Linked DNA regions of Homo sapiens: regions 1 and 3 are each linked to region 2. Evidence: promoter capture Hi-C in human tissues and cell types (Jung and others, 2019). All regions are on one chromosome and are shown on one strand. The core of a region is centred on a gene start or on the middle of the fragment in contact, and the rest is flanking DNA. Distances in the headings are between cores, read along the strand shown.

What was found. The method cuts DNA at HindIII sites, captures the fragments that hold promoters and counts their contacts. A contact is called where the count stands out against the background at its distance.
Region 1: a contact is called between a fragment that was not itself captured here and the fragment with the promoter of SOX2 in region 2, in 1 of the 25 tissues and cell types used here (pancreas).
Region 3: a contact is called between a fragment that was not itself captured here and the fragment with the promoter of SOX2 in region 2, in 1 of the 25 tissues and cell types used here (lymphoblastoid cells).

What each region holds. Positions count from the first base shown.
Region 1 is chr3:182,718,646-182,722,404 of GRCh38, forward strand. No RefSeq gene overlaps it. Among named protein-coding and RNA genes, the nearest start is that of ATP11B-DT, 73 kb to the right of the region's middle. The HindIII fragment of the contact is 5,156 bases long and covers 1-3,759 here.
Region 2 is chr3:181,710,159-181,713,897 of GRCh38, forward strand. SOX2 (SRY-box transcription factor 2) reads left to right here and starts at 1,767. Exons shown (of 1, transcript NM_003106.4): 1 at 1,767-3,739. The coding sequence starts at 2,203. The coding sequence ends at 3,156. All of the region lies in intron 6 of SOX2-OT (SOX2 overlapping transcript), which reads left to right. RefSeq lists enhancers at 196-1,049, 1,050-1,902, 1,903-2,756, 2,757-3,608, a promoter at 995-2,028 and a silencer at 1,608-1,667. The HindIII fragment of the contact is 19,833 bases long and covers 1-3,739 here.
Region 3 is chr3:180,640,835-180,644,140 of GRCh38, forward strand. CCDC39 (coiled-coil domain 39 molecular ruler complex subunit) reads right to left here. Exons shown (of 20, transcript NM_181426.2): 12 at 3,286-3,306; 13 at 1,159-1,367. Among named protein-coding and RNA genes, the nearest start is that of CCDC39, 37 kb to the right of the region's middle. The HindIII fragment of the contact is 4,981 bases long and covers 1-3,306 here.

The DNA of each region.
Region 1 (3,759 bases), core at 1,172-3,671, 1.0 Mb after region 2:
GATTAGCATTGTAAGAAAATCTTGTCGTGCTTTTGTTTTGTGTTTAATTTACAGAAAAAAAAACATATAATACCCTTTTGAATTTAGTTAATATGGTCACACACAGAGTTTCCTTTGCAGGACTAATTTTTACAATCTCCTCACAACTTGCTTAAACCATCCACTTTATTTTATTTAATTGTAAGACAATTCTTTATTCCTAAGCAAAATGTATATTTTCATGCTATCGTATAATTTTTAACTAAAAACATATTTTACTGTTTTTATATGTCTTGCATGCAAATCCATGTTCAGTGGTTTTAATTACAAGTCATAATGGTAATGCTTAGCAATTTTTAACTTTAATGTAAAACCTGCTACGTTTTTTAAATCATGCGCTGGATGCAGATGAAGTTTGACTCCTTCTAGCATAGTTAGGGACATGGCTACTTCAACATGTTCTTGGCCTTACCAGTTGTGAAGCAGGCAAGTTGAAAGTTCTTAAAGGCTAAGGAAGCAGTTTACGGCCAGGCGCGGTGGCTCACGCCTGTAATCCCAGCACTTTGGGAGGCTGAGGCGGGCAGATCACAAGGTCAGGAGATTGAGACCATCCTGGCTAACACGGTGAAACCCTGTCTCTACTAAAAACACAAAAAAAATTAGCTGGGCGTGGTGGCGGGCGCCTGTAGTCCCAGCTTTTCGGGAGGCTGAGGCAGGAGACTGGCGTGAATCCGGGAGGCGGAGCTTGCAGTGAGCCGAGATCAGGCCACTGCACCCCAGCCTGGGTGACAGAGCAAGACTCTCTCAAAAAAACAAAAAACAAAAAAAAAAAGAAGCACTTTACAACCTTAAAACATTTAGCAAACCTAGTATCTGACCTGCATAATTTAGACCACATTTTTACACCTTGAAGACATTTGTATTTTACCAATAATTCCTAAGACCGCTTTTATTTTTAAAGATTAAAGTCATGTGATCTGAAAGGTACCACAGCTTTTACTTTTCCTTTAAAAATATTTGATTTAAGTGCTTATTTTTCTTAGGCCAATTAATTAGAGCTCTTTTTAATAGACATTGCACACATAACACATATATAACCACACAGACAAACAGAATAAGATCCAGTAGTTATAAAACTTACATTTGCCAATTTCCCAATTAGATTATTGGCCTCTGGGTGAGGCCCTATAAGAACAGGGCTAGGAGTACAATTTCCAGGGCCTAATAAACAAGCATAGCCAGAAGACAAGGACAGATTTGGAGAGGTACTTACTCACCTCTAATTCCAGGGGTTCCATAAGGAAAACAGAGATTTTTCCCAGAATGGAATTTGTGGCACCTTTTCTGATGTCCCAAGGCAGCCCAGGCCACCAGAAGTCATTCTAGGGGCTTTCATGCATGCAACAAGAGTGGCAAGACAGAGTGGAGAAAAGTAATTCAGTCGAGTGAGAAAAAAAACCTTTTCCAGGAAAACTAGATTTATGAAGAGAAAAACATGAAGGCCTTTTGGATGTACTTATAGCTTGGATATCCATTTTTAATTAAGCTGAGTGCTCTTTAAGAAAATCCTTTTTCACGAATTAACACTTTGCAGATAAGATAAGCAGTAATTCTTACCATTTGTTTTTCCAGTTTGCACCACTACCTGTTCACAATTATGTTCAGGTTCTCCAGTTTTCTCTGGGAGAAAGTGACTGGGCTCAGGCAAGGGTGGGTTTTTAACTGGCCTGCAGATCCCTTTAGCAGCAAAGCTTGATATTTGAGGAGGCAATTGTCTGTTAGCCAGAGACTTTCCTTAGTGGACAACATTCCTGTTATATTGTGTGGGGTTAAACAGCGAAGTTATTTCTTTTTTTTTTTTTTTTTTTTTTTTTTTGAGACGGAGTCTCGTTCTGTCACCCAGGCTGGAGTGCCTTGGCGCGATCTCGGCTCACTGCAAGCTCCACCTCCCGGGTTCACGCCATTCTCCTGCCTCAGCCTCCCGAGTAGCTGGGACTACAGGCGCCCGCCATCACGCCCGGCTAATTTTTTTGTATTTTTAGTAGAGACGGGGTTTCATCGTGTTAACCAGGATGGTCTCGATCTCCTGACCTCGTGATCCGCCCGCCTCGGCCTCCCAAAGTGCTGGGATTACAGGCGTGAGCCACCGCGCCTGGCACAGCTAAGTTATTTCCCATGGTTAACCCAGAGGTTTCTGGCACCAGCAAAGCCACCACTGTAACTGCTTGGAGGCAGGCTGACTATTCTTAAGCCACCAAGTTAAGATCCTTGCTTAAGTAACCCACTGGCTGTTGAGCTGGACCTCAAGCCCTAGTTAAAACTTTCAGGGCTATTTTCTTCCTTTTCAATACATAAAGATTAAATACCTTCCCTATGGGAAGACTAAGAACTGGTCCTTTTTTTGGGGGGGAGACCGAGTCTCGCTCTGTCGCCAGGCTGGAGTGCAGTGGCGCTATCTCGGCTCACTGCAACCTCTGCCTCCTGGGTTCAAGCGATTCTCCTGCCTCAGCCTCCCTAGTAGCTGGGACTACAGACACGTGCCACCACGCTCAGCTAATTTTTGTATTTTTAGTAGAGACGGGGTTTCACCATGTTGGCCAGTATGGTCTTGATCTCTTGACTTTGTGATCCACCCTCCTCAGCCTCCCAAATTGCTGGCATTACAGGCGTGAGCCACCTCACCTGGCCAGAACTGTTGCTTTAAGTAAGGCTTGCTTTAGCTAGTTTAAGGCTTTTGTGTTTTTAGGTTCCTAAAGGGGGTTGAGTTTTAACTGTCTGAGTTTCTTTTATGAGGTGGTATAAAGGATGAGCTACTTTCCTGTGCCCAGGTACTTACAGTCTACAAAATCCAATAATGCCTAAGAATTTTCTTAACTGTTAAAGGAAATGGGCTTAATCCTTTCCTCACCAGGTGCTCTGCTCCCTTTTGATAAGACCAGAACTAGGTACTTTGCTGAATTCTGAGAGAGCTGAGCTTTAGATTTTGAGACCCTATTCTTCTTTTTTTTTTTTTTTTTTTTTTGAGACAGAGTTTCACTATTGTTGTCCAGGCTGGACTGCAATGGTGTGATCTCGGCTCACTGCAACCTCCTCCTTTTGGGTTCAAGAGATTCTCCTGCCTCAGCCTCCTGAGTAGCTGGGATTACAGGTGCCCATCACCATGCCCAGCTAATTTTTTTTTTTTGTATTTTTAGTAGAGACAGGTTTCACCATGTTGGCCAGGCTGGTCTCGAACTCCTGTCCTCAAGTGATCCACCCACCTAGGCCTCCCAAAGTTCTGGGATTACAAGCGTGAGCCACCGCGCCCGGCCAACCCTATACTTCTTTTAGCTAAGAAATTGAGGAGAGTCTAAGTGCCTTCCTGAGACTTTCTTGATTGGGGCACAGAGGAAAGTGTCATTTACACACTGCAAGACCCTGACCTGAGGATGGGAGAACTTAGAAAGGTCCTTTGACAGTGCTTGTCCAAACAAGTGAGGGCTGTTTTGAAATCCCTCAGGCAGCACCATCCATGTTAACTGGGCGGTCTGACTGGGGGGAATCCTCAAAGGCAAACAGGTATTGAGAGTCAGGATGTAACAGTATGCAGAAAAAGGCATCCTTTAAATTTAGGACTATAAACCATTTAGTTTCCTGCGGTATCTGTGTCAGCAAGGTGCAGGGATTAGGGACCACTGGATGAATTGGGACTATGGCCTCATTCATGAGACGAAGGTCCTGAACTAGGCTCCATTCCCCATTGGGCTTTTGCACTCCTAGTATCGGAGTGTTGCAAGGACT
Region 2 (3,739 bases), core at 517-3,016:
ATGCACCGTTTTGTAAAGATAATAAATGGAACGTGGCTGGTAGATACTATTCAGTACATTTTCTTAGGGTGAGTAAGGGTAGACCAGGGGAGGAGGGGGCGGAGAGAGTGTTACAGAAGAAAGAAAATAAGTAACCCTGATGGTTTAAGCCCTTTATAAAAAAGAAATGGCATCAGGTTTTTTTTTCTTTATTCCCCCCCACCCCACCCTTTGTAGTCAAGTGCATTTTAGCCACAAAGATCCCAACAAGAGAGTGGAAGGAAACTTAGACGAGGCTTTGTTTGACTCCGTGTAGCGACAACAAGAGAAACAAAACTACCTATTTGTAACGGACGTGCTGCCATTGCCCTCCGCATTGAGCGCCTACCTATTGAAATCTTTACGTCGGGACAATGGGAGAGCGGCTAAAATTACCCTCTTGGGTCCTGGGCGGGCAAGATTCCTGAGCCCCTACCCCCGCCCCCATCTCATCCTCCTCTAACCCGGGCCTTGCTGGGCTCCCCCTTCCCCAGTCCCGGCCGCCTTCTCCCAGTGTGCGCTGCCTGCACCTGTGCCTGGAGAGCATCGACCCCGCCTCCCAGGCCTTGAGCCCCTTTGCGGCGCAGCCCCAGCCTTGCGCGGCCTGGGCTTTGCGGCCACCACAATGGAAATCTACGGGGAAAATGCCAGGGCTGGTTCTGCTGGAGTCCTGGGAACTCTGCGTGGGAGGGAGTTTGTGACTGCGGCCCAAAAGCCACCTCCATACAGTGCCGTGGGATGCCAGGAAGTTGAAATCACCCTCCCCCATCGCCTGCACTTTTGAGCGCCCTTCCGTCTGTGTCTTTCCCCAGCCCCCATTTGAAAGCCGCACGACCGAAACCCTTCTTACGGGGAGGCATGGGATGGGAATGGGGAGTGGGGGCAGACAGTAGAAGCATCCCCTTTGCTACGGTTGAATGAAGACAGTCTAGTGGGAGATGTGGCTGGGGCTAAGAGGAAGAGCTGCAGTTTCCTGGGCCAAAGAGCTGAGTTGGACAGGGAGATGGCAGCTTACCAAGGCCTGCTGGTTCTCAGCTCTAGAGTCTGCCTTATGGTCCGAGCAGGATTTATTTTTAAGAACAGAGCAAGTTACGTGGAAGCAAGGAAGGTTTTGAGGACAGAGGTTTGGGTCTCCTAACTTCTAGTCGGGACTGTGAGAAGGGCGTGAGAGAGTGTTGGCACCTGTAAGGTAAGAGAGGAGAGCGGAAGAGCGCAGTACGGGAGCGGCACCAGAGGGGCTGGAGTTGGGGGGGAGTGCTGTGGATGAGCGGGAGAACAATGACACACCAACTCCTGCACTGGCTGTTTCCAGAAATACGAGTTGGACAGCCGCCCTGAGCCACCCACTGTGCCCTGCCCCACCCCCGCACCTTAGCTGCTTCCCGCGTCCCATCCTCATTTAAGTACCCTGCACCAAAAAGTAAATCAATATTAAGTTTAAAGAAAAAAAAACCCACGTAGTCTTAGTGCTGTTTACCCACTTCCTTCGAAAAGGCGTGTGGTGTGACCTGTTGCTGCGAGAGGGGATACAAAGGTTTCTCAGTGGCTGGCAGGCTGGCTCTGGGAGCCTCCTCCCCCTCCTCGCCTGCCCCCTCCTCCCCCGGCCTCCCCCGCGCGGCCGGCGGCGCGGGAGGCCCCGCCCCCTTTCATGCAAAACCCGGCAGCGAGGCTGGGCTCGAGTGGAGGAGCCGCCGCGCGCTGATTGGTCGCTAGAAACCCATTTATTCCCTGACAGCCCCCGTCACATGGATGGTTGTCTATTAACTTGTTCAAAAAAGTATCAGGAGTTGTCAAGGCAGAGAAGAGAGTGTTTGCAAAAGGGGGAAAGTAGTTTGCTGCCTCTTTAAGACTAGGACTGAGAGAAAGAAGAGGAGAGAGAAAGAAAGGGAGAGAAGTTTGAGCCCCAGGCTTAAGCCTTTCCAAAAAATAATAATAACAATCATCGGCGGCGGCAGGATCGGCCAGAGGAGGAGGGAAGCGCTTTTTTTGATCCTGATTCCAGTTTGCCTCTCTCTTTTTTTCCCCCAAATTATTCTTCGCCTGATTTTCCTCGCGGAGCCCTGCGCTCCCGACACCCCCGCCCGCCTCCCCTCCTCCTCTCCCCCCGCCCGCGGGCCCCCCAAAGTCCCGGCCGGGCCGAGGGTCGGCGGCCGCCGGCGGGCCGGGCCCGCGCACAGCGCCCGCATGTACAACATGATGGAGACGGAGCTGAAGCCGCCGGGCCCGCAGCAAACTTCGGGGGGCGGCGGCGGCAACTCCACCGCGGCGGCGGCCGGCGGCAACCAGAAAAACAGCCCGGACCGCGTCAAGCGGCCCATGAATGCCTTCATGGTGTGGTCCCGCGGGCAGCGGCGCAAGATGGCCCAGGAGAACCCCAAGATGCACAACTCGGAGATCAGCAAGCGCCTGGGCGCCGAGTGGAAACTTTTGTCGGAGACGGAGAAGCGGCCGTTCATCGACGAGGCTAAGCGGCTGCGAGCGCTGCACATGAAGGAGCACCCGGATTATAAATACCGGCCCCGGCGGAAAACCAAGACGCTCATGAAGAAGGATAAGTACACGCTGCCCGGCGGGCTGCTGGCCCCCGGCGGCAATAGCATGGCGAGCGGGGTCGGGGTGGGCGCCGGCCTGGGCGCGGGCGTGAACCAGCGCATGGACAGTTACGCGCACATGAACGGCTGGAGCAACGGCAGCTACAGCATGATGCAGGACCAGCTGGGCTACCCGCAGCACCCGGGCCTCAATGCGCACGGCGCAGCGCAGATGCAGCCCATGCACCGCTACGACGTGAGCGCCCTGCAGTACAACTCCATGACCAGCTCGCAGACCTACATGAACGGCTCGCCCACCTACAGCATGTCCTACTCGCAGCAGGGCACCCCTGGCATGGCTCTTGGCTCCATGGGTTCGGTGGTCAAGTCCGAGGCCAGCTCCAGCCCCCCTGTGGTTACCTCTTCCTCCCACTCCAGGGCGCCCTGCCAGGCCGGGGACCTCCGGGACATGATCAGCATGTATCTCCCCGGCGCCGAGGTGCCGGAACCCGCCGCCCCCAGCAGACTTCACATGTCCCAGCACTACCAGAGCGGCCCGGTGCCCGGCACGGCCATTAACGGCACACTGCCCCTCTCACACATGTGAGGGCCGGACAGCGAACTGGAGGGGGGAGAAATTTTCAAAGAAAAACGAGGGAAATGGGAGGGGTGCAAAAGAGGAGAGTAAGAAACAGCATGGAGAAAACCCGGTACGCTCAAAAAGAAAAAGGAAAAAAAAAAATCCCATCACCCACAGCAAATGACAGCTGCAAAAGAGAACACCAATCCCATCCACACTCACGCAAAAACCGCGATGCCGACAAGAAAACTTTTATGAGAGAGATCCTGGACTTCTTTTTGGGGGACTATTTTTGTACAGAGAAAACCTGGGGAGGGTGGGGAGGGCGGGGGAATGGACCTTGTATAGATCTGGAGGAAAGAAAGCTACGAAAAACTTTTTAAAAGTTCTAGTGGTACGGTAGGAGCTTTGCAGGAAGTTTGCAAAAGTCTTTACCAATAATATTTAGAGCTAGTCTCCAAGCGACGAAAAAAATGTTTTAATATTTGCAAGCAACTTTTGTACAGTATTTATCGAGATAAACATGGCAATCAAAATGTCCATTGTTTATAAGCTGAGAATTTGCCAATATTTTTCAAGGAGAGGCTTCTTGCTGAATTTTGATTCTGCA
Region 3 (3,306 bases), core at 181-2,680, 1.1 Mb before region 2:
GGGGTCTTTGAAAAACAAAAAAGATATAATTCCACTCTTTTAGAAACATATTCAATGTATAGAAAAATAAGAAATACACACAAGTCATTTTATGAAGTCAGACATAACCTTAATAGCCTGATACCCTGACAAGGACAGTAGAGCAAGGAGAATTATGGGTCATTTATACACATGAACATAGATGCAAAAATTGTATTAAAATATTCCCTAACAAAATCTAGATGTATGCAAAAGATAATATGTAACAGACAAGTTGGGTTTATTCTAGAATGTAAGGTTGGTTTGACTTTGAAAAATTGATCAATATGATTAAACACAACAGATTGAAGAAGATACATCTTGTCAATAAGTGCTGAGAAAGCATATAATAAAAGTCAACATCCATTCTTGATTAAACAAAATAACTTCTTAGTAAAGGATAAAAATAGATAGGAGCTCAATGTGGTAAAAGGTATCTAAAAAATAGAAATAAACTACAGTAAACCTTATATTTAATGCAAAAACAATGAAAGCTTTCCCTTTGAGATCAGATAATAAGACAAGGATACCTGTAATCAACACTGCTCTTCAGTATTGAACTGGGGAAAAAAGAAAAGTTATAAAGATTGGAAAGCAAGAAATAAAACTGTTATTATTTGAAAATAATATAAATGAAATACAGTATATAGAAAATTAGAATGTACTGATTGTTAGAACAAGATTGTTAAGCAGGGTTGCTGAATACTTAATATACAGAAATTAACTGCATTTCTACATACCAGCAGCAAACCAAAAATGAAATTGACAGTAACATTAAAGAAAAAACATGTAGCCAGAAATAATCTTATAAAAGATGTGCAAAATCACTTCAATAGATGCAGCTATTGAATATCTATTTTTAAAAAGACGTGTTATTGGACTTTACCACAAACCATACATAAAAAGCAATTCCAAGTAGATTAGTGATCTTAATGTAAAAGGGACAATCTAAAGAATGAAGAATTAACCAAAAGAAGAGCCTAGATTTATGGCTATAACATGCCCTATGTCTTTCTTATATGAAAAGCCATTTCGAATGAGTAAAAACGATGCACATCCGGGATGTTAGAGGGGGCAGCTAGTTCTCCTGACATCATCCTGTTTTTTTAATTCCTCAGCAGTTTTAAAACTGAAAATTACCTTATGTTTTCCCGTTCTTGATCAACATATCTTATTTGTGACGCAAGCATTGTTTTATGAACCTTGATTTCTTCAGTTCGCTCTTCCATTGCTGTGTATAATTGCTGTTTTCTTTTTTCTAGGGAAAGAACTTCTTCTGCCTTACTGTGAAGCATTTCTCGAGTACGCTTAACTTCAAGTTTTAAAAGATTGTCCTCTATCATCAAATCCTATCAACGTAACAAAATGGTCAAATATTGAAATTATTTTTAATTGCAAAACCAAAATTTTTTTTATTGCTATATAAGTAAAACTTGAAAATATACCTTTTTCCAATTTAACCATTGACTAAGATATTAGCTAGGCCTAAAATTGATCATAGTTTTTTTTTTTCTTTTAAGAAAAGGGTTTATAGTTATTCCAAATCTTTTTCATAATTCAATTTTAAAGTCAAGCTTTGCTATTATAAAAAACAAAGGGAAGAAGTTATTCCTGAAGTTAAACTTACGCTATCCAAAAAACATAAAGCCCTATGAATGGCCATTTTTATACTCTGAATCTCACAAAATAATGTGGAAATATATTTTTATTTTAAAACAATTCAGTCGTGAATAGAGTACTGACATAAGAGTACACATATCAATCAATTTTCAGAATAGAAACCCCAGAAAAAAACACTCCAGGATATAAGATTTTATTGTTTCATAAACGTGGCTTTTCATTTGGAGAGATTAGATACTTACATCTCACGTGCACCAAAAATATATTCTAGATGAATGAAAAATCTTAAGAGATGAAATCAACGTAACTACTAGAAATAGTAAACATTTGTCTGATTTTTAGTGTAACCAAGAAGTTTCTAAGCATAAAAATTAAAAAGAAAAAAAAACTAAGAGATTTGATGTTTTAAAAAAAGTTTTGTGTCACAAACACTGAATAAAAATGTAAAGGTAAATGGGGAAAATATTTACAATATTTATGACAGAGATAATTTTTTTTTTTTTTTGAGACGGAGTCTTACTCTGTCGCCCAGGCTGGAGCGCAGTGGTGCGATCTCCGCTTACTGCAAGCCCCACCTCCTGGGTTCACGCCATTCTCCTGCCTCAGCCTCCGGAGTAGCTGGGACTATAGGCGCCCGCCACCACGCCCGGCTAATTTTTTGTATTTTTAGTAGAGATGGGGTTTCACCATGTTAGCCAGGATGGTCTCGATCTCCTGACCTCATGATCCACCCGCCTCGGCCTCCCAAAGTGCTGGGATTACAGGTGTGAGCCACCGTGCCCGGCCGACAGAGACAATATTTTTACATATGAAAATCTTTTATAATTTATATATGTAAACTTCCCAGCGGAAAAAAAATGGGCCAAGAATACAAACTAGAGCTCCAAAGAAAAAAAATATGGAACATGACATAACAGAGAAAAGTGTTTTAAACATTTTTATTTAAACATAAATGTTTGAAAATGTATCATTAAACAAAATATTTTTAAACCACCAATTTTAAAAATGCAGACTAAAACAATGAGATACCATGTTTATCAAATTGGCAACAATTTTTTAAATTAGGATATCCAGCCTCAGTGGTAGTGAATAAAATAGAATGCTTACATACTACTGATAGGAGTATTAATGGTACCCTCTAGAAGAGAATTGGGCTTAAAAATTGTTTCAAGACGCTAAAAATATTCATTTCTTTCTGAATCATAATTATATAGCTAGGAATTTATCCAAAGGAACTAACTGAATAACTGCACAATGAACAACTAATTGAACAACTGCACTGTACATGTAGTACTATTTACAATAGCCAAGCATTAGAAAGAAACAAAAATCTAAAAAATAGGGGATGGTTAAATAAACTATGGTAATTTCATGCAATGGACTTATAGAAAGCCTTCAAAAATGTTTTTGAAAGAATAGTTAATGTTTTAGGAAGCATATGATATATAGAAATTTTTTAATACAACATAAAAAGCCAAATTTCTTTACAAGACTGGAGGGAAATTATAGACTTTAACACTGTTTATATTGGGTATAGTGATTATAGTGACATTTTCTTTTTCATAATTTGCTATATTTTTTCATTTGTCTACAATTAACATGGAAACATGGTTTTCAATACTACATATGCATACAATTTTACTGCACCTGCTTAAAACCTTTGGCTTT